Regions from separate parts of the Homo sapiens genome. Here regions 1, 3 and 4 are each linked to region 2. The links are contacts of gene promoters, found by promoter capture Hi-C in blood cells and fetal thymus (Javierre and others, 2016). All regions are on one chromosome and are shown on one strand. Each heading gives the region's core, a stretch centred on a gene start or on the middle of the fragment in contact. The rest is flanking DNA. Distances are from core to core; before and after follow the strand shown.

The links. The method cuts DNA at HindIII sites, captures the fragments that hold promoters and counts their contacts. A CHiCAGO score of 5 or more calls a contact.
Region 1: a contact is called between a fragment that was not itself captured here and the fragment with the promoter of PNPLA6 in region 2, in 1 of 17 cell types (M1 macrophages). The highest score is 5.9, in M1 macrophages.
Region 3: a fragment that was not itself captured here is called in contact with the fragment with the promoter of PNPLA6 in region 2 in 1 of 17 cell types (naive CD8 T cells); the score reaches 5.4 in naive CD8 T cells.
Region 4: a contact is called between a fragment that was not itself captured here and the fragment with the promoter of PNPLA6 in region 2, in 1 of 17 cell types (M1 macrophages). The highest score is 5.2, in M1 macrophages.

Annotation. Positions count from the first base shown.
Region 1 is chr19:7,141,821-7,148,440 of GRCh38, forward strand. INSR (insulin receptor) reads right to left here. Exons shown (of 22, transcript NM_000208.4): 12 at 996-1,270. Among named protein-coding and RNA genes, the nearest start is that of ZNF557, 75 kb to the left of the region's middle. The HindIII fragment of the contact is 1,821 bases long and covers 3,412-5,232 here.
Region 2 is chr19:7,534,373-7,541,325 of GRCh38, forward strand. PNPLA6 (patatin like domain 6, lysophospholipase) reads left to right here and starts at 1,345. Exons shown (of 32, transcript NM_001166114.2): 1 at 1,345-1,648; 2 at 1,819-1,901; 3 at 2,077-2,174; 4 at 5,546-5,686; 5 at 5,777-5,936; 6 at 6,258-6,338; 7 at 6,551-6,679. The coding sequence starts at 1,417. RefSeq lists an enhancer at 1,180-1,419. The HindIII fragment of the contact is 24,808 bases long and covers 1-6,953 here.
Region 3 is chr19:7,089,171-7,095,716 of GRCh38, forward strand. LOC124904625 (a long non-coding RNA gene) reads right to left here. Exons shown (of 3, transcript XR_007067110.1): 2 at 3,125-3,281; 3 at 1-281. Among named protein-coding and RNA genes, the nearest start is that of ZNF557, 23 kb to the left of the region's middle. The HindIII fragment of the contact is 1,691 bases long and covers 3,491-5,181 here.
Region 4 is chr19:7,804,134-7,810,662 of GRCh38, forward strand. All of the region lies in intron 1 of LOC124904628 (a long non-coding RNA gene), which reads left to right. Among named protein-coding and RNA genes, the nearest start is that of EVI5L, 23 kb to the right of the region's middle. The HindIII fragment of the contact is 161 bases long and covers 2,196-2,356 here.

The DNA of each region.
Region 1 (6,620 bases), core at 3,072-5,571, 390 kb before region 2:
AAGGAGAGGAAGTGAGAGGCAGGGATGTAACTCTTGGATGAGATCCCACTTCTGCCACCTGTCCATGGTGCAACCTTGGGCTGGTGACGTCATTTTCCCACAACCCATTTTCCTCGTCAGAGAACGGACATCTAAAACTCATCCCACAAGATTGTTAGGAAGATTAAATGGGTTACTTTCTGCGTATAACTTTTTTTTTTTTTTGAGACAGAGTCTTGCTCTGTCACCCAGGCGGGAGTGCAGTGGTGTATTTTCTAAAGTTTACATAATGATTGCCTATGACTCATAATTTTAAAATATGACCTGGCATGGTGGCTCATGCCTGTAATCCCAGCACTTTGGGAGCTCAAGGTTGGCGGACCACTTGAGCTCAGGCATTGGAGACCAGCCTGGGCAACATGGTGGAACCATCTCTACTGAAAATACAGGTGTGGTGGCACACGCATGTAGTCCCAGCTACTCAGGAGGCTGAGGCAGGAGAATTGCTTGAACCAGGGAGGCGGAGATTGCAGTGAGCCAAGATTGCGCCATTGTACTCCAGCCTGGGCGACAGAGCAAGACTTCATCTCAAAAAAAAAAAAAAAAAAAAAAAAGGCCAGGTTCGGTGCTCATGCCTGTAATCCCAGCACTTTGAGAGGCCGATGTGGGTGGATCACTTGAGCCCAGGAGTTCAAGACCAGCCTGGGCAATATGGTGAAACCCCATCTCTACTAAAAATACAAAAATTAGCTGGGCGTGGTGGCAGACACCTGTAGTCCCAGCTACTTGGGAGGCTGAAGCAGGGAATCACTTGACATAGGTGGCAGAGGCTGGAGTGAGCTGAGGTCGCACCACTGTACTCCAGCCTGGGCGACAGAGCAAGGCTCCGTCTCAAACAAAAATGAAGGCCAATAAGGTAAAATACAGATATGCACTGCTTAGAGGGTGGAGAATCTGTCCTTGGTCAGCCTTGATGTCCCACCCATGACACTCGGACCCCGGAGCAGCAGCCCTACCTTCAGGCATGGTCCTCGCACTGACGTAGGCTGCCACACTGCACCGTTCCTCAGGGGTGTCCTGGTTGCAAGCCTGCAGCTCGATGCGATAGCCCGTGAAGTGTCGCAAGCCGGAGATGACCAGCGACTCCTTGTTCACCACCTTCTCAAAAGGCCTGTGCTCCTCCGGACTCGTGGGCACGCTGGTCGAGGAAGTGTTGGGGAAAGCTGCCACCGTGGGCACGGCCACCGTCACATTCCCAACATCGCCAAGGGACCTGCGTTTCCGAGATGGCCTGGAACGACAGTAGGACATGTATGATGACACCATCACCATCATTTTTTTTAAAAAAGTGACACTGGAGAATAAAAGGCTTGATTAAGAAGAAAGATCAGAGCGCAGGAGGGTGCAGCAATGGGGAACATGGATTACAATACAGACTGCCAGGAATGACCACTCAGAGCAGCTTTCAATATACCCTTGTGAGCATCTGAAGGATTAGAGCAGGCCCACCTCGTGAGGGATGAGTGCTTCTAAGACCGTCAATGGTAGACACACACCGATATTCCCCTCGACATGCTCGATTTCAGGTTTTTCATTTTGCAGATAAATAGGCCAGCCAGGGTCAGTGACAAAAATAAGACACCAAAAGCACGTAAGAGTCTAGCTTTTCAGGAAGCCCTGCCAAATGGCATTTGCTCATTGGCCCAAGCTACTGATCGACATCATCAGTTTAAATAGGAAAAAATACATCTTTTCCTTCTTATTGCTGCTTAGGGCACCTGTATAATTTGAGTGATTAAGCTGCAATTCTTAGAAAAGGAATCACATCACTCAGGTCAGGAAGATTAACTCCAAGAAACATCTATGCAATTGGCACACTTCTCCCCATCCCTTAAGAAGACATATTAAACAACAAAGGTTGATAGCTAACAAATTTTAAAATACAAAGAAAAAAGGATAAAGAAGAAAATGTAGGCTGGGCGAGGTGGCTCATGCCTATAATCCCAGTACTTTGGGAGGCCAAGGCGGGCAGATAACCTGAGGTTAGGAGTTCAAGACCAGTCTGGCCAACATGGGGAAACCCCGTCTCTACTAAAAATACAAAAATTAGCCGAGCCTGATGGTGCACAGCTTTAATCCCAGCTACTCAGGAGGCTGAGGCAAGAGAATTGCTTGAACCCGGGAGGCGGAGGTTGCAGTGAGCTGAGATCGTGTCACTGCACTCCAGCCTGGGCGACAGAGTGAGACTCTGTCTCAAAAAAAAAAAAAAGAAAAGAAAATATAAATCACTCATAAATCCACAGCCCACTGCTTCCTTTGGACAATTTTTTCCCTGTAAATATTATGTGTGAACATGATGAGGATCAAGCCTGTTTTATAAGTAAACTTTGTCTACTTATTATATTGGAAGCATTTACTAAATATTTTCCTTTCAACATAACATTTTAGGAGAGAATTTTGGGACTTTTCCTTTTTAATATTAGGGTTTTCCTCCATCATCTACAAAAGTAGCATGTGTTCCCTGCAGAAAACTTGGAAAACGATGAATGACTGTAAAATATTCCATTTGCTACGTGAGTCGTCACTCACTTAACCATCCTCCTTATTTATTTATTTATTTTGAGACAGAGTTTCACTCTTGTCGCCCAGGCTGGAGTGCGACGGCGTGATCTTGGCTCACTGCAACCTCCGCCTCCTGAGTTCATGCGATTCTCCTGCCTCAGCCTCCTGAGTAGCTGGGATTACAGGAGTCCGCCACCATGCCCAGCTAATTTTTGTATTTTTAGTAGAGACGGAGTTTCGCCATGTTGGCCAGGCTGGTCTCAAACTCCTGACCTCAGGTGATCTGCCCACCTCAGCCTCCCAAAGTGCCAGGATTACAGGCATGAGCCACCGCACATGGCTCTTTTTTTTTTTTTTTGCTGTTATAAATATTCCTTTGATCATTGTCTGATTGTCTTATTACTTCCCCAAAGTAGATTCCTAGAGGAAAATATTACTAGGTTCAGGGAGATAAGAAACTCTTTAAGCTTCTTAATACCTACAGCTAAATGGTTGTCCAGAAACTCTATATTGACTTGTGGTTGCACCAGCAGGCCATGAGACTGCATTCCAGGACAATCTCAGCAACCCCTAAGCCTTAATAGTTTTTTTTTTTCTTTCTATGTTTGTTTGTCTAGATCTTTAACCCAAGAGATTAAAAATATGCTATCACTCGACTACGTTATTTGCGGATCTTTATATTACTGAGTGTGACTTCATTTTTCCTTTATTGGTTCTCTGTGATTCTCCAAAGAATTGTCCCCTCCTTGTCTTTTGTCTGTTTTTCCATGAATTTCTTGTGTTTTCCTTACTCCTGTGTTGTTTATTCATTAAGGATATTAACCTTTTATGTATCGTGCTATACAACTTACTCTTTTCCATTTGCCAGTAAGCTTTCTTTAAATGATTTGAAACAGGCTTTCATGTTTATTTGTACAATTTAATATATCAGTAACACTTTAAAACGTGTTCCTTTATAAGTCATTCTAGATGGGGTTATTATGAGTTGTGCTAAGGTTTTACGGCAATTTTGAAAGGGATCTTTTCCCTTATTTTATATTCTAATTATTGCTTGTGTATCTACAGTCTTTTTGCTTATTTCTATGTACCTACTTTCCCAAACTCTAACTCATTTAAAAAGTTTCATAATTGGCTTTCCTGGGTTTTCAATGACACACTAGAAGAGGGGTCAACAAAATTTTCCCGTAAAGGGCTAGATAATAAATATTTTGGGTTTTGCAAGCCAAATGACCTCTGTCACAACTACTCTGTCATTGTAGCTTAAAGCAGCCCTACATGATGTGTAAACAAGTGGGTGGGGTTGCATTCCAATAAGAGTTCATTTACAAAAACAGGCAGCTAGCCCATGGGCCATAGTTTGCCTACCCTTGAGCTAGACGCTCTGCAAATAGCAATGACTTTATTTCCCACATTCCATTCTTTACAACTCTGATTTCTGTTTCTTGTCTTATTACATTGGCTGGATGCCCAGAGAAATGTTAATTAGTAATGATGAGATGGGGCTTCCTTGTTTTGTTCCTAACTCTGCTAAGAATAATTTTAAGAATGATGTTAGCTTGGCTGTTGGTTTAACCTAGGTAATATTTATCTTGTAGAAGAAATATTCTATTATGAGTTTTATGAAGCCTCTTTTTTTCCTCCCCTTTCTCTAAGTTAGGAATTTTAAATTAAGGTTATTGAAACAGATATGATCTTCCTTATTGCACCTCTTGATGAACTAGATGATGTTATCAAATCTTCTGATCTTAAACCATCCTTGCATTTTGGAGATAAACAATATTGCCAGTGCAGTGTTTTATTTGGGACATTTGAATCTAACATCACATATTAGCTTGGCCTGTGGCTTTTGTTCAGTGCAGTATCTTTGTCAAGTTCTTTTTTTTTTTTTTTTTTTTTTGAGACAGAGTTTTGCTCTGTTGCCAGGCTGGAGTGTGCAATGGCGCAACCTCGGTTCACTGCAACCTCTGCCTCCCAGGTTCAAGCGATTCTCCTGGCTCAGCCTCCCAAGTAGCTGGGATTACAGGCGTGTGCCACCATGTCTGGCTAATTTTTGTATTGTTAGTAGAGACAGTGTTTCACCATGTTGACCAGAATGTTCTCAATCTCTTGACCTTGTGATCCGCCCCCCACCTCAGCCTCCCAAAGTACTGGGATTACAGGCATGAGCCACCATGCTCAACCTCTTTGTCAAGTTCTTTAAGGGTGTTATGTTCATTTCATAAAATGAACTGGGATAACTTTTATAGATTTCTGTGCCCTAAAATAGTTTTTCTATTATAGGAAATAGTTGCTCTCTCACAATTTGAAAGAACGTGTCTATAAAACTCTCTGGGCCAAGGGACTTTTTTGAGGAAATTATTTGACACATATCTTTTTCCAAGGTTCATAACCACTTAATTTTTCTGCTTCTTTTTGAATCCATTTAGACAAGTTAAATTTTCCCACCTTACTGAAACTTTCAAATTTAGCAAGTGCACCATTGTCCAAAGAACTTAACACATTAAAATTTTCTTCAGACGCTAGTTTTATGTCATCTTCTTTCCTTCTGGTTTGTGTTTTCCCTTTGATTATGTTTACCATAGGCTTAGCTGTTATTGCTTTTCCCTTCCTAACACATTTATAGTTTTATAGTTTAAAGTTTATTTCTTAATTTATCAATCCATTTAAGTCTGCTAAGTAACATCAAAGCCAAGCTTTGACAATATTCTACAAGTTAAGGTATGTGATATTCACATTTTCATTATTTTCCAAAAGGACTTCAATGGAAGTTTCCATTTCTGCTTTGGCCCGATAGATATGTAAGTGTTTAACTTTTTAACTTTTTTTTTTTTTAGACAGAGTCTCGCTCTGTTGCCCAGGCTGGAGGGCAGTGGCGTGATCTCGGCTCACTGCAACCTCCACCTCCCAGGTTCAAGTGATTCTTCTGCCTCAGTCTCCTGAGTAGCTGGGACTACAGGCGCACGTTACCACATCTGGCTAATTTTTGTATTTTTAGTAGAGAAGGGGTTTCACCATATTGGCCAGGCTGGTCTCAAACTCCTGACCTCAGGTGATCCGCCTGCCTGGGCCTCCCAAAGTGCTGCGATTACAGGTGTGAGTCACTGCGCCCAGCCTGTAAGTGTTTAACTTTTAACCACCAAGAAGTGAAGTTTTCTGTTTAATCTTTTGAAATTAACTTTTAGTTTCTATTGCAGCGTCATCAGAAAATGTGTGGTCAGAAAACAAATCCTACTTTGGGGGCATTTCTTAAGATTCTCTTTATGGTCTTTTTGTATTAAAAGACTAACAACATTGTAGAATGGAAAAGAAAACAGCTCCACCACTTATCAAGCCAAAGATATGTCCGTATTAGCAAGATTCAGATAATTTCTATACAGGCACAAATGGGTCTCGTGAAAATAACCAAGACGTTGGTGCTTCATGAGTAACTACTGAGAAATTGGTATCTCAACAACCAGAGATGTAAAATGGGCTCATCAAACAGGCCAAATGAGTTTATATACCAAAAAGATTATAACCAAAAAGACCATGAAGTGGCAAAAGACAAAGCATCAACTGATTTTTTTTTTTGAGACAGAGTCTTGCTCTGTTGCCCAGGCTGGAGTGCAGTGGTGTGATCTTGGCTCACTGTAACTTCCAATTTCTGGGTTCAAGCGATTCTCCTGCCTCAGCCTCCCAAGTAGCTGGGATTACAGGCGTGCATCATCATGCCCGGCTAATTTTTGTATTTTTAGTAGAGACGGGGTTTCGCCATGTTGCCCAGGCTGGTTTCAAACTCTTGACCTCAGGTGATCTGCCTGCCTGGGCCTCCCAAAGTGCTGGGATTACAGGCATCAGGCATGAGCCACAGCACCTGGCCTAGGCAGCATTTTATTATCCAGCAATCCCACACTAACCTGGTCATCTCAACCAAGGGTCCTTCTGACCCCATCACCCAGGGGGATATTTAGCAATGTCTGAAGATATTTTTGGTTATTACTACTTTAGGGGGAAGACACACTACTGGCATCAGATGAGTGGAAGCCAGGGATGCTTCTCAGTGTTGTTGGACAGTGCCCTAGAATAATCTGACCCCAAAT
Region 2 (6,953 bases), core at 95-2,594:
CGGCAGGTGTTTCCACACCGGTAGCCAGCTGTGCCCTGAGGTGGAAGAGGACCGGCCACCCAGGAATTTTCCAAGTAACGACTCGGAGTCTCCGGGATTCCTATCTCCCGGCCCCCGAATTTCCATTAATATTCTAGCGATGTCAGAAACATCCTCAGCTTCCCAGAAAAATCCCAGTAATATTCCAGCATCTCTCAGTATCTTCCAAGGAGCCCGGACGCCCTCCCCAGGCCCGCTCTCATAAGCACCCCAGGAATGTGCCCACCCACCTCCTGGTTTTCCCAGCAGTAGTATTGTAATCCTCAGAATCTCAGTAACTTTCCAGTGACCCCGCATCCCCACCCACTAATCCCAGCGTCTCTGGTTACGCCTCCCAGCAATGGCGCCACCATCGGTCCCGGAGTCCCAGTGATGCTCTGTGCCATAGAGCCCCCATAACTTCACTACTACGTGATAGTAAATCCCCGGCAAAAACCAGCAGCGCCTTGCAAGCCCACGCCACCCCAAGCATCCCAGGACTCTTCTGAAACGTGGGTATCAGACGCCTTCCGCGGATGCCCCGGCAGTACTCCCGTGCCTCCCAGCTCCTGGGTCTTCCCCGGGGCAGGCTTGCGTCGGGAGCCGAGTATCTAGGTGCCCACTCCCGGACCCCACGGTTTGCGGGCCCGTTTTCCTGGGGTGGGGCATTCAGTCTTCGACGGAGTAGGGGGTGCGGCCTGGGGGGTGGGGTGGTCAGGCTTGATCAACCCTGCAGAGGGCAGTGACCCGGGAGGAAGTCACCAGGTGCAGAGGACCGTGCCCTGTGGGGACCTGCCTGCAGGCTGCTGACAGTGGGTACCAGGTCGGCCTTTGGCCCCGGGGTGGGGTTGGACAGGCGGGCGTCTGGTAGGCCCTACGCGTAGGCGAAGGGAGCAGGAAGCCGGGGACCCGCCTCATCTCCTGGCCAGGGCCGAGAGGTCGGTTTGCTCCATCCCTTAGTCCCGCAGCGCCCCTCTAGCCTCGCCCCTGGCAGCTGGAGACGCTTCCCCCGCCACCCCAGAGGGCAGGGCTTGAGCTGGGGGCAGGGCTTGAGGCAGGGGAGAGGTGGGCCCAGATTGACGACTTGCACGGGTTCCTTCGACTCCTTGATTTCCCAGGACTCCGGGCTACCAGATCGGCCGTCCAGCTGGAATCAACCGATGGAGGCTCCGCTGCAAACTGGAATGGTAAGGGGTGGGGCGGAGACCGGGTAGGTGCCGGCGTGGGGCGCCAAGAGGACTACAACTCCCGGCGTGCTCAGCGCGCATTACGTGGTCTGGCGATAACGCGCTGCGTCCGCTCGGGCGGAACTACGTTTCCCGGCATGCACTGCGGGCCGCCGGGCCTCAGGGAAGAGTCGCGCCCCCGGGGAGGGAGCAGCACTGGCCCATTCTGCAGATGGGGACATCGAGTCACGGGCTGGCTACGAACTCCTCGGGGGCGAAGGTGGCGGAGAGGGATGGGTTCCAGGACGTCCTGGCGCCCGGGGAAGGCTCGGCGGGACGGATTTGCGGTGCGCAGCCAGTGCCGTTCGTCCCTCAGGTGCTTGGCGTGATGATCGGGGCCGGAGTGGCGGTGGTGGTCACGGCCGTGCTCATCCTCCTGGTGGTGCGGAGGCTGCGAGTGCCAAGTGAGCACCCGAGGGGCCCCTCTTGGGAGGCTGTATGGTGGGGGGCCCAAATGCCCGGGTCCCGAGGCGGCAGAGATGGGGATTTGCTGGCGTCTGTTCGCGGTACCCCAGCTCTGGCAGGGTGGAGTCTGCACAGAGCTCGGAGTGCCCCTGTCCCCACCTATCCCCAGAAACCCCAGCCCCGGATGGCCCCCGGTATCGGTTCCGGAAGAGGGACAAAGTGCTCTTCTATGGCCGGAAGATTATGCGGAAGGTGAGTCCGGGACCCCTGGGGTCCGCCCTGACCACACAGAGGCCGCGCCCCTTCCCTATTTACACTTCTTAGTGTCCGCCACCGCTCCTTCCTTGATGGAGACCCCCTGGATCCGTCTGCCTCTTCTCCAAGGTCTGAATTAGCAATTCACCCATCTCCGCCTTCATTCTCCCAGGTGTCACAATCCACCTCCTCCCTCGTGGATACCTCTGTCTCCGCCACCTCCCGGCCACGCATGAGGAAGAAACTGAAGATGCTCAACATTGCCAAGAAGTAAGGCTGTGCTGGGTGTGACCTGGTATTAGGGGTTATCTCAGGGGCCTTTTGAGTAATCAGCTTACACCAAAGTGTTGTGGAAGTCTTCCCATATTGGCTGCGCGCTGTGGCTCATGCCTGTAATTCCCAGCACTTTGGGAGGCTAAGGCGGGCAGATCACCTGAGATCAGGAGTTTGAGGCCAGCCTGGCCAACATGGCAAACCTCATCTGTACTAAAAATACAAAAATTAGCTGGGCGTGGTGGCATGGGCCTGTAATCCCAGCTACTCAGAAGGGTGAGACAGGAGAATCACTTGAATCTGGGAGGTGGAGGTTGCAGTGAGCTGAGATCATGCCACTGCACTCCAGCCTGGGCAATAGAGTGAGACTCTGTCTCAAAAAAAAAAAAAAAAAAAAAAAAAAGAAGAAGAAGAAGAAGAAAGTCTTCCTGTTTCAGAGAGACATCTCTGGACTCTCCTCTCAGAGCTCTTCCACACCAGACATGCTGTCTCTAGGGTATCTCTTCCCTGAGGGCTACCTCAGTGACCTTCTCCTTCCACTGGAGTATCTGAGCTATTTGTTCCCAAGTCAATATCTCAGAGGTCTTGCCATATACTTAGTGGGGGGGTCTACATCAGGGGTTTCCATGTAGGTTATTTCATGAGTCTCTTCACATGAGTGGTTTTCTTCCAGGGTACCTCACTGAGGTAATTGTGTTTCTACGATCTCCTAAAGGGGCTATCTCCAGCCTCCAGCCTCTCTTCTCCGGGGGTTATCTCAGGCATCTCTGTACATCAGAAGGCATCTTTCCTATGTTATGGACCTTGAAGTTCTTCCCACACTAAGGAGGCTGTCTCAGGAGTTTCTGTTCCCTAGGGGCTATCTTATGAATTTTCTTGCACTAGAAATATAGGAAGGATGCATCAGAGATCCCTGTTGGCAGCAAGGTCTGCGAGAAAGGCTCTCCAACTCTCTTTGCAAGTTGGGTGCTGGCTCTGGGATCCCTGTGCGTCATGTAGTCTACCTGGAGGTCTGCCTCAAGGGTTTCTTCACACCAGGGCAGGGCTCTCCATGATCAATAGTCCTGCAATGGCAGTCCTTTCTTTTTTGTTTGTTTGTTTGTTTGTTTTTGAGATGGAGTCTTGCTCTGTCACTAGGCTAGAGTGCACTGGCACGATCTCGGCTCACTGCAACCTCCACCTCCTCGGTTCAAAAGATTCTCCTGCCTCAGCCTCCCGAGTAGCTGGGACTACAGGCTCATACCACCATGCCCAGCTAATTTTTGCATTTTTAGTAGAGACGGGGTTTCACCATGTTGGCCAGGATGGTCTCGATCTCTTGACCTTGTGATCCGTCCGCCTCGGCCTCCTAAAGTGCTGGGATTACAGGCATGAGCGACTGAGCCCGGCCAATGGCAGGGCTTTCTGTGAGTTGAGTAGAAGGACTATCTCAAAGTTCCCCATGATCAGTTGAGGGTCTATACCTCAGGTTTCTCCACATCACAGGAGCTGTCTGTAGTGTTTGCACACTCTTAAGGGACTACCCTGATATCTTCATGATTGTCAGAGGGCTGTCTGAGCTTTCTGTGACCTAGGGAAGAGTTAGCCCAAGATCTCCCTGATCAAAAAAGGAATAATCATAACAATTATAATTATTATTATTATTTTGGAGACAGGATCACACTTTGTTGTTGAGGCTAGAGTGCAGTGGCACAATCACAGCTCACTGCAGCCTTTACCTCCTGGGCTCAAGAGATCTCTCCTGCCTCAGCCTCTTAAGTAGCTGAGACCATGGGCATGCACCACCATGCCTGGCTAATTTTTAAATTTTTTTGTAGAGATGGGAGTCTCACTGTGTTGCCTGGGCTAGTCTTGAACTCCTGGCCTCAAGCAATCCTCCCACCTCGGCCTCCCAAAGTGCTGGTATTACAGGCATGAGCCACCACGCCCAGCCAAAAAAGGAATTATATCTGAATTTCTTGATTTCACTGAGTTTAACTCAGGGTCCCATCCTCCAAGGTCTATCTCAGGGATCTTTTGCCAGCGGAGGGTCTTTCTCAGCAATCACTGTGACTTGTGGGGAAGGGCTCTCCCAGGTCCACGATTAGCAGAGGGGCTATCTGGATTCTCCACTTATAATGAGGGCTACTTCAGGGACCTCTGTGGCTGTCAGAGGGGCTGTCTCAAGGTTCTCTGAGACTGGGAGGAAGGTCTATCTCAGGAATGTTTATGTAGAACAGAGAGACTGTATCTGCGGTCTTCTCATATATTGGAAGCTATGTCAAAGGCATACTCACGTTAAGGGGACTATCTCAGGAATCTACTCTGTGACTACTGGAAGGACCGTTTCAGGACCCCCATGATAAACACAGGTACCATTTCTGGGCCTACCCTTATCTTGGAAGCTATGTCAGGGGTCTGCCTTCCTAAAGGGTTCAGCTCAGGGGCCTATGCCTAGTGGAGGGGCCATCTCAGAGAACTTTAGGTCTGGGGTCATAGGGTTTTTCCATAAAGGGCCAGATAGTAAATGTTTCAGGCTTTGCTGGCCACATATGGTCCCCATTGCAACTCTTCAACTCTGCTGCATGGGAGCAGCCATAATGATATGCAAATACATGAATGTGGCTTTGTACCAATAAAACTTTATTTACCAAAATAAATGTGGCCAGCCGGGTGCAGTGGCTCACGCCTGTAATCCTAGCACTTTGGGAGGCTGAGGCGGGAGGATCACTTGAGTTCAGGAGTTTGAGACCAGCCTGGCCAACATGGGGAAACCTCATCTCTACTAAAAATACAAAAAATTAGCTGGGCGTGGTGGCACCCACCTGTAGTCCCAGCTACTTGGGAGGCCGAGGCAGGAGAATCGCTTTAGCCTGGGAGGTGGAGGTTGCAGTGGGCCGAGATTTCGCCACTGCACTCCAGCCTGGGTAAAAGAGCGAGACTCCTGAGGCAGGGCACAGTGGCTCACACCTTTAATCCCAGCCTTTGGGAGGCCGAGTCGGGCGGATCACCTGAGGTCAGGAGTTCGAGACCAGCCTGCCCAACATGGAGAAACCCCATCTCTACTAAAAATGCAAAATTAGCTGGGCGTGGTGGCACATGCCTGTAATCCCAGCTACTAGGGAGGCTGAGGCAGGAGAATCGCTTGAACCCTGGAGGTGGAGGTTGCAGTGAGCCGAGATCGCACCATTGCACTCCAGCCTGGGAAACAAGAGCAAAACTTCGTCTCAAAAAAAAAAAAAAAAAAAAAAAGGTGGCCAGCCTGATTTGGCCAGCGGGCCAGAGTTTGCTGTACATGAGCCCTGGGGAAAGGGGTATGCGGGGGTCTTAGGTTTGCCTGAGCCTTCTCCGTGCCCCCCTCACCCCCGGCACCCCTCCCCTCCCACCAGGATCCTGCGCATCCAGAAAGAGACGCCCACGCTGCAGCGGAAGGAGCCCCCGCCCGCAGTGCTAGAAGCTGACCTGACCGAGGGCGACCTGGCTAACTCCCATCTGCCCTCTGAAGTGCTTTATATGCTCAAGAACGTCCGGTCAGTGTTGGGGTGCAGGTGGGGGTGGAGGGCTGCAGACGTGGGGCCGCCCTGACCTCCAGCCTCTGTCGCCCACCGCCTGTCCAACAGGGTGCTGGGCCACTTCGAGAAGCCACTCTTCCTGGAGCTCTGCCGCCACATGGTCTTCCAGCGGCTGGGCCAGGGTGACTACGTCTTCCGGCCGGGCCAGCCAGATGCCAGCATCTACGTGGTGCAGGACGGGCTGCTGGAGCTCTGTCTGCCAGGGCCTGTGAGTGGGCCTCCCCAGGGGCTGCTGCAGGAGGATGGGTGGTGGGGATGGGCAGCAGGCATTGGTCTGTAGAGCTGGTGGTCTTTGGAGATGCGTCATCGGGAGTCAGGGGAACGGGTGACCGAGGACATTTGGGGTAGTCTGCGTAGTTGCTCAGTAGTTACAAGTATTGAACGATGGGAGATGCCTGCTCGTTGGAAGGGTTGGTGGGTTCCCCTGAGAAGGGATGAGAAGTGTCAGTGATCATTGGGATGGATGAGGGGGCGACATGCCAGTCACCAGGGCGAGGCCACTGAGGGTCCACGGTCTCCTGTGTCTCAGGACGGGAAGGAGTGTGTGGTGAAGGAAGTGGTTCCTGGGGACAGCGTCAACAGCCTTCTCAGCATCCTGGATGTCATCACCGTGAGTGACCAGTTTCTGAGGCAGGGGGGCTGGGGTGCAAGGTCCCACCCAAGGGACTAGGTTGAAGGAAATCACAGGGTCCCCAATCTCTGGTTCATCCGTTATGCTGCCGATGGCCCCTCACGGGACTGGCGCCAGGAAGGATTAGGGGAGTAGCGAGGGGGACTCGCAGCCTCTGCCCTTGTCTCTCTTCACGCCCTCCCCTCCCCCAGGGTCACCAGCATCCCCAGCGGACCGTGTCTGCCCGGGCGGCCCGGGACTCCACGGTGCTGCGCCTGCCGGTGGAAGCATTCTCCGCGGTCTTCACCAAGTACCCGGAGAGCTTGGTGCGGGTCGTGCAGGTCAGTGGGCCTTCGCCTCCTGTCACCCCCTGAGGGACCCCACCCTGGCCCCCACCCATTCCAGGCTCCAAGGGACCGAGGCCCAGCAGCCAGCAGGCGCTGGAGCTGTGGTTATCGGCCTGGAGCAGCCAGATGTCTGCAGCCGCGGACTCCTCCCTTAGCTGCCTCGCCCCATTTCCCCAGACTGTGGGTCTCTCCCTGGTTCCCGCCCGACCCCTTATGCTGCGAACTAGCCCGGCCCACCATCTGGCCCTGCCCCTTACCCCGCCCCATC
Region 3 (6,546 bases), core at 3,086-5,585, 440 kb before region 2:
TTGTGAACAGGATGTAGGGAAACCACAAAAGGTACTTGAAATGGAACATCGGTCTTCTCCCCACCTCAGATACGGGTGCTTCTGGTTCTCCAGCCTTCAGACTCAGACTCGCAACTTACACCATTGGCCCTCCTGGTTCTCAAGCCTTTGGACTTCACACTGGGGTTTACACTGTTGGCTCCCCTGTTTTCAGGTCTTTGAGCTTGGACTGGAGCAAGACTACCAGCTTTCTTGGTTCTCCAGCTTCCAAACAAATGGCAGATCGTAGGACACCCATAAGCCTGAAGGGACAAAGGAAGAGAACTGCAAGTTGTTGTTCAAGCGAGGAGAGGGCTGCATTCCAGGAGCTGACAGGAGGTCAGTGAGGGGCAACATCCAGCCTCGAGTTCTGCAAGAAATAGTAAGGGTCGGCCAGGCACAGTGGCTCACACCTATAATTCTGGCACTTTGGGAGGCCGAGGTGGGTGGATCACTTGAGATCAGGAGTTCAAGACCAGCCTGGCCAACATGATGAAACCCATTCTCTACTGAAAATACAAAAACTAGCCGGGTGTGGTGGCATGCGCCTGTAGTCCCAGCTATTCAGGAGGCTGAGGCAGGAGAATTGCTTGAACCCGGTAGGTGGAGGTTGCAATGAGCCAAGATCATGCCATTGCACTCCAGCCTGGGTGACAGAGTGAAACTCCATCCCCACCCCCCCACCACCACCAAAAAAGAGAAAGAAATAGCCAGGGCCAGCCCTCCTTGTCCTTCATTCTTCTTATATCATATTTGGGTTCCCCATTTGCCAAACTCAACCAAAAGCCAATAAGGTAAGGGAGTTCGTTGATAGCATTCATAGTAACTAATCATCCCAAGTACAGCAGGGTAGAGGAGGTGAATCTGCTGGGGCGAATGGAAGATACCCAGTATTGGTCACTCCTTTTGCTTCTCAGAATCTACTCATGCCCATCACCTGGATGGAAAGTTCATATCCAAGCCCAGGAATTCTATCAGTTGCTCAGCTACCCTGGGGTGGTGTCCATGCACTGATACTCCCCGATGAAGCCTAACATAGTTGCCAACACCAGTGTTTCCTGTATAGGATGAGGAACAGAGCCATTGGGGAGGAAAGCAAAAGAAATAATTAACCTGGCCAGGCGCAGTGGCTTACCCCTGTAATCCCAGCACTTTGGGAGGCCGAGGTCGGTGGATCACGAGGTCAGGAGTTTGAGACCAGCCTGGCCAACATGGTGAAACCCCGTCTCTACTAAAAATACAAAATTAGCCAGGCACAGTGGTGGGCGCCTGTAATCCCAGCTACTCAGGAGGCTGAGGCAGGAGAATCTCTTGAACCCGGGAGGCGGAGATTGCAGTGAGCCGAGATCATGCCACTGCACTCTAGCCTGGGTGACAGAGTAAGACTTCATCTAAAAAAAAAGAAAAAAGAGAAGTAACCTAAAGGACTTGGTTCCCAGAGGGAAACACTTCCACCAAGAGACACAGTAAGAGTCTCATCGGATGTTAAACTGTGACTTCTATGAGACCAGCACACAAGGAAAGAAGTCACCATACTGACTTAGGTAATTAATGCTATCATCCATAGAATCTGAGGCTGCTGTTACATGATGAGTGCAGGGAGGAAAACATTTGGCATTCACGGAATCCATTGGGATGTCTCTTACTATTCTTTCCCCAATTTTAAAGATAAAAAAATTTTGGCCAGGCGTGGTGGGTCACGCTTGTAATCCCAGCACTTTGGGAGGCCGAGGTGGGCACATCACAAGGTCAGGAGATCGAGACCAGCCTGGCTAACATGGTGAAACCCTGTCTCTACAAAAAATACAAAAAAATTAACTGGGCGCGTTGGCAGGCGCCTGTAGTCCCAGCTACTTGGGAGGCTGACGCAGGAGAATGGCGTGAACCCAGGAGGCGGAGCTTGCAGTGAGCCGAGATCGCGCCACTGCACTCCAGCCTGGGCAACAGAGCGAGACTCTGTCTCCAAAAAAGAAAAAGATAAAAAAATTTCACCAGCTATGTCCTGAGAAGGGCATGGTGAAGACCCCGTAGGCATAAGGATCTGGAGCAGCTCTCCAGGTAAGCCACCTAGACCAGCAGGATCTAGGTGAGAAGGAAATCTAGAATTTTCACCCTAGTCAAGGGTAAAGGGAATCTGGAAGGTGCAAGTAAAGGAGTGTGATAAGCATCAATTGCATCTCTGAGACTTGTTCAGGTGGAAAGGGCTGTCTACAGTTTGTCCCACTGATCTTCCTCTTGTCAGTTTCTCCAGGCAACGGGACCAACCTGGATCCTGAGGGCACTTACTTTAAGAATCCTGGGGCCGGGCACAGTGGCTCACGCCTGTAATCCCAACACTTTGGGAGGCAGAGGCGGGCAGATCACTTGAGGTTAGGAGTTCGAGACCAGCTTAGCCAACATGGTGAAACCTCATTTCTACTAAAAATACAAAAAATAGCTGAGTATGGTGGCACATGCCTATAGTCCCAGCTACTCCAGAGGCTGAGGCAGGAGAATCACTTGAACTCAGGAGGCAGAGGTTGCAGTGAGCCAAGATGGTACCACTGCACTCCAGCCTGGGCAACAGAGGGAGACTCTGTCTCAAAAACAAAACAAACAAAATGAATGCAGGGCATCTGAGTGGCACACATGGTGGACCACAGTAGGTACAGTGGTGGCACTACCCAGCAAAAGAGCTCTTCACCCAATGTGCTAGAAGCCAATACTATGACATCAGATTTTTGAGAAAAGGAAAGGTTTGTATTGCAAGTTAACAAGGAGACAGGAGTCCAGCTCAAATTTGTCTTATGCTGACTTTAAGGCAATAATTTTCTTAGAAAAGGTGTAGGGCGTGGATTCTGGGATTAGCAGGCGATTGGTGGGAGGAAAGGTCTGTTAAGTCCTCAGGCAGGTGCAATGATCTCTTCATGCCTCCCCATGGGTTCCATGTGCAAAGTCATACTAACTCAAGGGAGTTTGTATGAAACACGTGGAAATTTGCACTGTGACATCAGCAAGCTCATTCTGCACAAACTCCATTTGGCCATGTGGGTTCTCACAGATTTTAGGCAGTTTTGTTACAAGTGGAGGCAGTTTCAGCGTTTTAGCAAGTTATTTCTTTTTTTACCTGCCATCCTGCAAACTCAATGAGAGGTGAAGCCAGCTGGACTTCCTGGGTCGAGTGGGGACTTGGAGAACTTTCCTGTTTTACAAGAGGATTGTAAAACACACCAATCAGCACTCTGTAGCTAGGATTGTAAACCGCACCAGTGAGCGCTCTGTAGCTAGCAAGAAGATTGTAAAATGCACCAATCAACAGTCTGTAAAACACACCAATCAGCAAGATCCTGAAAGCAGCCAATTGCAGGGAGGATTGAAAAAAGGGCACTCTGATAGGACAGAAACAGAACATGGGAGGGGTCAATAAGGGAATAAACGCTGGCCACTCCAGCCAGCAGCGGCAACCAGCTCGGGTCCCCTTCCAAGCTGTGGAAGCTTTGTTCTTTTGCTCTTCACAGTAATCCTTGCTACCGCTCACTCTTTGGGTCTGTGCCATCTTTAAGAGTGAAGGTCTGTGGCTTCTTTCTTGAAGTCAGCGAGACCACGAACCCACCAGAAGGAACCAGCTTCCAACACATCAAGAATTTCTGCTAGTCTTTGCTTTAACACTTTAGGCATGGTTTCAGTGGCATATTTCCCAGATTCTTCCTTTAAGACTAAGGCACTAAGGCCAGGCGTGGTGACTCACGCCTGTAATCCCAACACTTTGGGAGGCTGAGGCAGGTGGATCACGAGGTCAAGAGATCAAGACCATCCTGGCCAACATGGTGCAACCCCGTCTCTACTAAAACTACAAAAATTAGCTGGGCGTACCTGTAATCCCAGCACTTTGGGAGGCCAAGGCCGGCGGATCACGAGGTCAGGAGATAGAGACCATCCTGGCTAACACGGTGAAACCCCATCTCTACTAAAAATACAAAAAATTAGCCAGGCATGGTGGCGGGCACCTGTAGTCCCAGCTACTCGAGAGGCTGAGGCAGGAGAGTGGCGTGAACCTGGAAGGCGGAGCTTGCAGTGAGCCGAGATGGCGCCACTGCACTCCAGCCTGGGCGACAAAGACTCCATCTCAAAAAAAAAAAAAAAAATTAGCTGGGCGTGGTGGCGTGTGCCTGTAGTCCCAGCTACTCAGGAGGCTGAGGCTGGAGAATCGCTTGAACCTGGGAGGCGGAGGTTGCAGTGAGCCAAGATCTTGCCACTGCACGCCAGCCTGGTGACAAAGCAAGACTCCATCTAGAAAAAAGAAAAGACTAAGGCACTCCCCTAGCTGCTGGAGGTGTTGCCTGATGATGGTGATGCTGCTGTCCTCTCTGGGAACTCCCCAAGGCCCAGAGGAAAGTGCCCAACCCAAGATTATGCTCTCTCTCCAGGGGTTGCCTACTTCCAGTGACTGGTTGATGTAGGGGGTACAAAGGTCCAGTGCCTTTGTTTCAATGTAGGACACCCCTGAAGGGCAACCCCAGCACCAGAACTCCCTGTGGGATCGACGGCAGCCTCAGTTGACAAGTTACATGTCAGCCTCATCTGTCCCCTCCGCTTCTCGCATGCCTTTAAAGATGTTGTTCCCAGGAGTTTTATCCAATAAACAAAAAATTGCCAGCACAAAATCTGTTCCCAGAAAACCTGATCCGAGATAAGATCACTCTATCAGGGTAAAGAATCCATTCAGGGCCGGTCTCAGGAGATCGAGACCATCCTGGCTAACACAGTGAAACCCTGTCTGTACTAAAAATACAAAAAATTAGCCGGGCGTGGTGGCGGGCGCCTGTAGTCCCAGCTACTCAGGAGGCTGAGGCAGGAGAATGGCGTGAACCCGGGAGGCAGAGCTTTCAGTGAGCCGAGATCGCGCCGCTGCACTCCAGCCTGGGCGACAGAGTGAGACTCCATCCCAAAAAAAAATAAAAATAAAAATCCATTCAGATAAGGGACTGGCAGAGAGAAAGCAGAATGTGGAATGGATGTGGAAGAATTAAATTCAGTCCTGAAGACCAGGTCCCAAAGCAGGAATAGAAGACAGCTATGCTTTGGGTTTGGGTTTTTTAAAAAATCTTTAATTTTTTCCGCTTTTTCCCTGGTTCCCCACCACCACCATCACCATTTTATATGAAGAGTCCTGGTTGTGGCCAAAGCTTAAGGTTTCTGATGGGAATACGACCAAATGACATTATCCCAACAGTAGCTTCCTTTGTATCTCTTTTTTTTTTTTTTTTTTTTTGAGATGGAGTCTCACTCTGTCACACAGGCTGGAGTGCAATGGTGCCATCTCTGCTCACTACAACCTCCGCCTCCTGGATTCAAGCGACTCTCCTGCTTCAGCCTCCCGAGTAGCTGGGACTACAGGCACACGCCAGCACACCCGGCTAATTTTTGTATTTTTAGTAGAGATGGGGTTTCACTATGTTGGCCAGGCTGGTCTTGAATTCTTGACCTTGTGATCCGCCCACCTCGGCCTCCCAAAGTGCTAGGATTACAGGCGGGAGCCACCGCGCCCGGCCCCCTTTGTATCTTATGTAGGGACATGAACTTAGCGCCAAGTGAAGGACAAGAATTGATATCCAAAATCCAATAGATTTTTCTTTTAAATACCTGAAAGTGAAACTGGCCCAATTTTCCCATATTGCTGATGTTTATGGTTTCCTTGAATAAACAAACAAATTGATCTTCCCAATCTTAAAACTTAAGAAAGTTACATTTATCTTATCTGAGTTCCTTTCTCAGGAAACCAACCATCAGGCCTCCCAGATAGTATCTAGGAGCTGAAACGCACCAGAATACTGCATTTGTACAGTGAGACATCAGACCCATCACCCATCATGATTGCCTAACTGACCACCTGCTTCCTGTTGACCAACTCCTCTTCCTTACCCTTCCCTAATTCCTGTATTCCCACACATGGTAACATTTCTTCCCTGCTATATAAACCTCAAATTTTAGTTGGTCAGGGAGATGGATTTGAGATTGTTCTCCCACCTCCTCAGCTGCAGCAGCTGATTAAAGCCTTCTTCCTTGGCAATACTCATTGTCTCAGCGATAGGCTTTCTGTGCAGTGGTGAGCAGCAGGACCTAGATTGAACCCCTGGTGTTTCAGCAACAACATAGTTCATCACCAGCAGAACTGCACTTCAAGAAACACTAAAGAAAGTTTTGGGCCAGACACGGTGGCTCACACCTGTAATCCCAGCATTTTGGGAGGCTGAGGCAGGTGGATCACCTGAGGTCAGGAGTTCGAGACAAGGCTGGCCAACATGGCAAAACCCCATCTCTGCTAAAACTACAAAAAAAAAAAAAAATTAGCTGGGCGTAGTGGCGGTCGCCTATAATCCCAGCTACTTGGGAGGCTGAGGCAGGAGAATTGCTTGAACCCAGGAGGTGGAGGTTGCAGTGAGCTGAGATCGCACCGTTGCTTTCCAGCCTGGGCGATGGAGCGAGACTCTGTCTCAAAAAAAAAAAAGAAGGAAGGAGGGAGGGAGGGAAGGAAGGAAGGAAGGAAGG
Region 4 (6,529 bases), core at 1,026-3,525, 270 kb after region 2:
GGAACCTCAGGGCAGGAGCCCAGAGAGCCAAATAACTGGATTCAAAGGGTCCATCCTCCCTTCACCATTGGCCTCAGGCATACCTGATCAATGCACAGGTCCCAGCTTGCAGTCTCCTGGCTCTAACTGGCTGGTGTTAGAGCAGATCCATAAAGACCCCAAATAAGAGAGTCAGGACCAAATTGTCCTCCCTGGCCCTTGGCCCCAGCCCACCCCCCTGCCCCACTCCCCAACACACAAGAGTCAACCTTCCAGGGAAGAAAGGAATCCCTGGAGCCTATCCCTCATCCTAGAACAGATATTCAGTCAGCTTTTATGGTCCTGGAATATTGGTCTTGCTAGAAAGACTATTCTAAATGCCAACAGCTGGCCGAGTGTGATGGCTCATGCCTGTAATCCCAACACTTTGGAAAGCTAAAGTCAGTGGATCACTTGAGCCCAGGGGCTCAAGCTCAGCCTGGGCAACATAGTGAGACCCTGTCACTATAAAAATAGTTTTTTTTGAGGTGGAGTCTCGCTCTGTCGCCCAGGCTGGAGTGCAATGGCGTGATCTCGGCTTACTGCAACCTCTGCCTCCTGGGTTCAAGCGATTCTCCTGCCTCAGCCTCTTGAGTAGCTGGGATTACAGGCACACCCCACCACACCTGGCTAATTTTTGTATTTTTAGTAGAGACAGGGTTTCACCATGTTGGTCAGGCTGGTTTCGAACTCCTGACCTCAGGTGATCCACCTGTCTCAGCCTCCCAAAGTGCTGGGATTACAGGCATGAGCCACTGTGCCAGGCCTGTTAAATGACTTTTCTAAACTACTTCTGTAAAGTCTATATTCTCTGTCATGGCTACTGAAGTCTTTGCTCAGTTAGCTTCATGGTTAGCTAGTGGTTGGACAGAGATTTCCTTGAATGTCTGGAATCGGAAGTCTGCCAGTCTTTGCCAGGGAGCTCTGTGTACTTATTAGGGACACACCTTCAACATTCACCCAGGAAATTTACAACTGTGCTTTAGCTCTCACTTCCTGCTTACACAGAGCCTCGAAGTCGGCCAGCGGTGTGAGCTTAGGGCTGTCTCAGGTCTTTCCTAAGCATGTGGCCTTCCATATCCCCAGAAATATGTCAGAATTTTTCAAAAGTCCCTCCGAACATCTAATGTCTTCATTTTTCCTTCTAAGATTTTTTTTTTTTTTTTTTTTGAGACGGAGTCTCGCTCTGTGGCTCAGGCTGGAGTGCAGTGGCGCGATCTCGGCTCACTGCCAGCTCCGCCTCCTGGGTTCACACCATTCTCCTGGCTTGGACTACAGGCGCCCGCCACCACACCCGGCTAATTTTTTGTATTTTCAGTAGAGACGGGGTTTCACCGTGTTAGCCAGGATGGTCTCGATCTCCTGACCTCAAGTGATCCTCCCGCCTCGACCTCCCAAAGTGCTGGGATTACAGGCGTGAACCACCGCGCCTGGCGCTTTTCCTTCTAAGATTTTTAGTTAGGCTATTATTTCCCCAACTGTTAAGTATTGCCACAGGCAGCTGCAATGTTAAAACATTTAACAAATAGCCCCTGGGGAGAAATGTTTAGCATCCGGCAAGTTCAAGTGAGGTCAGGTCTTTCAGAGCAGGGTCTTCCAGAGTACCAATAAATAGGTCAATAAATGACTCTTCTTGGCTGGGTGCGGCGGCTCACGCTTGTAATCCCGGCACTTTGGGAGGCCGAGGTGGGTGGATCACTTGAGGTAAGCAGTTTGAGACTAGCCTGGTCAACATGGTGAAACCCTGTCCCTGCTGAAAACACAAAAATGAGTCAGGCATGGTGGCGGGCACCTGTAATCGCAGCTACTCCGGAGGCTGAGGCAGGAGAATCGCTTGAACCCAGGAGAAGGAGGTTGCAGTGAGCCGAGATCACGCCACTGCACTCCAGCCTGGGCGACAGAGCGAGACTCTGTCTCAAACACACACACACACACACACACACACACACACACACACACACACACACACCTCTTCTTGAATGATCCTGAATGAGGTTTTGAAGGAGCCGCACCTCTGTTCTTTTCCGTATGGTATCAAGATTGTGGGCTGTTATTTTTCAAGGCTACCCTCTGAGCTGGAGAGCCAGGAATAAGACTAGAGTGAGTTAAAATTCTACAGAGCTTGCTGTTTTTTTATGTGTTTTTTTTTTTAATTAAATGCTCTGCAAATTACTGTAAGCTTTTGGTTAATTTCCAGAGTTGTGAAAATGTTGATTCTGTCAAATTTTGCCAGTTTTTTTCATTGCTTTTGTAGAAAGGCAAATTTTACTCTGCCATTTTGCTGACGTTCTTTTTTTTCCCCTTCGATGCTTAAATTATCTTTAATTTGGCCAGTGAAAGCTTTTCTCTCTGGCTTCTGGGTCCTTTTGACATATTCCTATTGGTTTTTTGCTGATCGTTTTTTCTTCCTTCCTGGCCTAACTAGATGTTCTAGGCTTTTGTCCCCCCCAACCCTGCCTCAGCCTCCCAAGTAACTAGGACTACAGGAGCACGCCACCACGCCTGGCTAATTTTTAAATTTTTTGTAGAAATGGGTCTTGCTATGTTGCCCAGGCTGCTCTCATTTTTCCAAAAAGCCCTGGGCTAGGTGGAGATTGGCAGTTAGAAATGATCTGGGTGTTAAGTGTGCCCATTGTTACTGGGGTATGTGGCTCCCAGGTCCTCTTAGTAGATAAATGGGAACACACACACACACACACACACACACACACACACACAAACTTATTTCTATATTTATCTTTATATTTTGAAAACCATGAATTCACCTCAGTACCTCCAATTCAATAGGGTTTATTCTTGTTTTTTTTTGTATCTTTTCTTTTTTTTTTTTCTTGAGACCGAGTCTCGCTTTGTCACCTGGGCTGGAGTGCAGTGGCGCAATCTTTGGCAGTCTCAGCTCACTGCAGCCTCAACCTGCTGGGCTTGAGGGATTCTCCTGCCTCAGGCTCCTGAGCAGCTGGGACCACAGGCTCACGGCACCACACCCAGCTAATTTTTTGTCTGTAAAGACAGGGTCTCACTATGTTTCCTGGGCTGGTCTGGAACTCCTGGACTCAAGCGATCCTCCCACCTTGGCCTCCCAACGTGCTGGGATTACAGTGGCCGGGTGCAGCGGCTCACGCCTGTAATCCCAGCACATTGGGAGGCCGAGGCAGGTGGATCACCCGAGGTCAGGAGTTCGAGACCAGCCTGGCCAACATGGCAAAATCCCATCTCTACTAAAAATACAAAAATTAGCCGGGCTTGGTGGCGGGAGCCCGTAATCCCAGCTACTTGGGAGCCTGAGGCAGCAGAATCGCTTGAACCTGGGAGGTGGAGTTTGCAGTGAGCCGAGATCTTGCCACTGCACCCAGCCTGGGTGACAGAGCAAGACTCTGTCTCAAAACAAAACAAACAGAAAAACAAAGTGCTGGGATCACAGGCATAAGCCACCACACCTGGCCTCTGCATCTCATGAGCATTTATTTTGTGCTATGTGTTTTTTGGATATGACCTCAAAGAATCCGGTAACACAGCCGCCCTCATTCTCATTTTACCTATGAGCATAGTGGCTCAGAGATGAGTCACCTGCCCACAGCCCATCAGCTGATAAACACTGGAGTTGGGTTTGAAACTGTGAAAGCAATGAGGACCACATCATTTTCACTTCCCTTCGTGGCCCCAACTCAAACCAACCCAAAACCCAAGAAAGAAGATGTGGAGATTGTGTTGCCTTTCATAACTGGGAAGCGCGGGTGAGTGGAGGGGACCAGATTCAGGATCTGCTTTTCTTTCTTTCTTTTTTTTTTTTTTTTTTTTTGAGACGGAGTCTTGCTCTATCGCCCAGTGGAGTGCAGTAGCGCGATCTCGGCTCACTGCAACCTCCACCTCCCGGGTTCACACCATTCTCCTGCCTCAGCCTCCCGAGTAGCTGGGGCTACAGGTGCCTGCCACCACGCCCGGCTGATTTTAGCATCTGCCTTTCTTTATCTGTCTATGATCTGTTTGCTCCAGAATGTAACCTTCTAGACCAAAGGTTGGCAAACATTTGAAAAGGGCCAAATAGTAAATATTTTTGGGCCTCGAGGGCTCTCTGCTGCAACTCTGCTATTCTAGCACAAATGCGTCACATACAATACATAAATGCATGGGCAGAAAACAATTTGTTAGCCGGGCACAGTGGCTCACGTCTGTAATCCCAGCACTTTGGGAGGCCAAAACAGATTAGGGTTTTCCAAGGCTGCAGGAAGGCAGGAATGTGGAGTGACTGCTTAGTAAGTATGGGGGGCTGGGCATGGTGGCTCACGTCTGTAATCCCAGTACCTTGGGAGGCCAGGGGAGGAAGATTACTTGAGGCCAGGAGTCTGAGACCAGCCTAGGCAACATAGCAAGGCCCCATCTCTACAAAACATTTGAAAATTAGCTGACCACGGTGGCACATGCCCACGTCCCCAGCTACTCAGGAGGCAGAGGTGGGAAGATTGCTTGAGCCCAGGAGGCTGAGGCTGCACTCAACCATGATTGTGCCACTGCAGTCACCCTGGGTGACAGAAGAAGACCCTCTCTCAACAAAAACAAAAATAAATAAATAGGCCGGGCGCAGTGGCTCATGCCTGTAATCCCAGCACTTTGGGAGGCCGAGGCGGGTGGATCATGAGGTCAGGAGATCAAGACCTTCCTGGCTAACACGGTGAAACCCCGTCTCTACCAAAAATACAAAAAATTAGCCAGGCATGGTGGCAGGCACCTGTAGTCCCAGCTACTCAGGAGGCTGAGGCAGGAGAATGGCATGAACCCGGGAGGCGGAGCTTGCAGTGAGCCGAGATTGCACCACTGCCCTCCAGCCTGGGCGACAGAGTGAGACTCCGTCTCAAAATAAATAAATAAATAAATAAATAAATAAATAAATAAATAAATAACTATGGGGTGTCCTTTTGGGGAGATGAGAATGTTCTGGAACTAGGTAGTAGGGATGGTTGCACAACATTGTAAATGTACTAAATGTCACTGAATTGTATACTTTAAATGGTATGCTTTAAATGGTAAAGTTTATGTTATGTGTATTTTACTACAATAGAGGAAATGAAGGGAATCCTTCAGGATGAAATGAAAGAACACTAGACAGTAACTCAAATCCATATGAAAGGCCAGGCGTGATGACTCTTGCCTGTAATCCCAGCACTTTGAGAGGCCAAGGCCCACCTGAGGTCAGGAGCTTGAGACCAGCCTGGCTAAACATGATGAAACCCCGTCTCTACCAAAAAATACAAAATTAGCTGGGTGTGGTGTCGTGTGCCTGTAGTCCCAGCTACTTGGGAGGCTGAGGTAGGAGAATCACTTGAACCCCGTTGACGTGAGCTGAGATCACACCACTGCCCTCCAGTCTGGGCGACAAAGTGAGACCCTGTCTCAAAAAAAAAAAAAGTCCACATGAAGAAATAAAGAACCCCTTCCCACCACTGGCATTTTCCGCAACTGCCTCCCATATAAATTCCTCTTGTCCTCAAATTTGGGTCTGCTTAGTGTACTGATTAAGCATGGACTTGTGTCAACTTGCCTAGGTTCGAATCCCAGCCCTACCACTTACAAGCTGTATGACCATGGTCAATTGTTAACCTCTCTGTGTCTCAATTTTCTCCTCTGTAAAGCAGGATAATAACTGTGCTTTTCTTGTAGTGTTATTGTGAAGACTGTTAGTGTCTCCCTCACCCACCCAGTCAAAAAACACCAGAATCACACATGTGGTTGAACAAATGTCTTTGCCTCCCCTCCCCTCCCCTCCCATCCTCTCCCCTCCCCTCTCTTTTCCTTTTTCTTTGAGACGGAGTCTCGCTCTGTTGCCCAGGCTGGAGTGCAGTGGTGCAATCCGGCTCACTGCAACCTCCACCTGCCAGGTTCAAGCAATTCTCCTGCCTCAGCCTCCTGAGTAGCTGGGACTACAGATGCGTGCCACCATGCCCGGCTAGTTTTTGTATTTTTAGTAAAAACAGCGTTTCACCATGTTGGCCAGGCTGGTCTTGAACTCCTGACCTCAAGTGATATGCCTGCCTCGGCCTCCCAAAGTGCTGGAATTACAGGCATGAGCCACCATGCCCAGCCAGTTGAAAAAATTTCAATGTATTACTTGTCACAGCGAAGGAGAATACACACCACGGGTAGCTGTTACTGAAACACCAGTTCAGTCGGCTGCTTGCCACACAGAAAGCCAATCACTGAGACACTAGTATTGCCCATGAAGAAGGCTTTAATTAGGTGCCAACCAAGGAGATGGGAGATCAGTCTCAGATCTATCTCCCTGACTGATTGAAATTAGGAGTTTAGGCTGGACGTGGTGACTTACGCCTGTAATCCCAGCACTTTGAGAGGCCGAGGCAGGCGGATCACCTGAGGTCGGGAGTTCGAGACCAGCCTGACCAACATGGAGAAACCCCATCTCTACTAAGAATACAAAATTAGCCTAGGGGTGGTGGCACATGCCTGTAATCCCAACTACTCAGGAGGCTGAGGCAGGAGAATTGCTTGAACCTGGGAG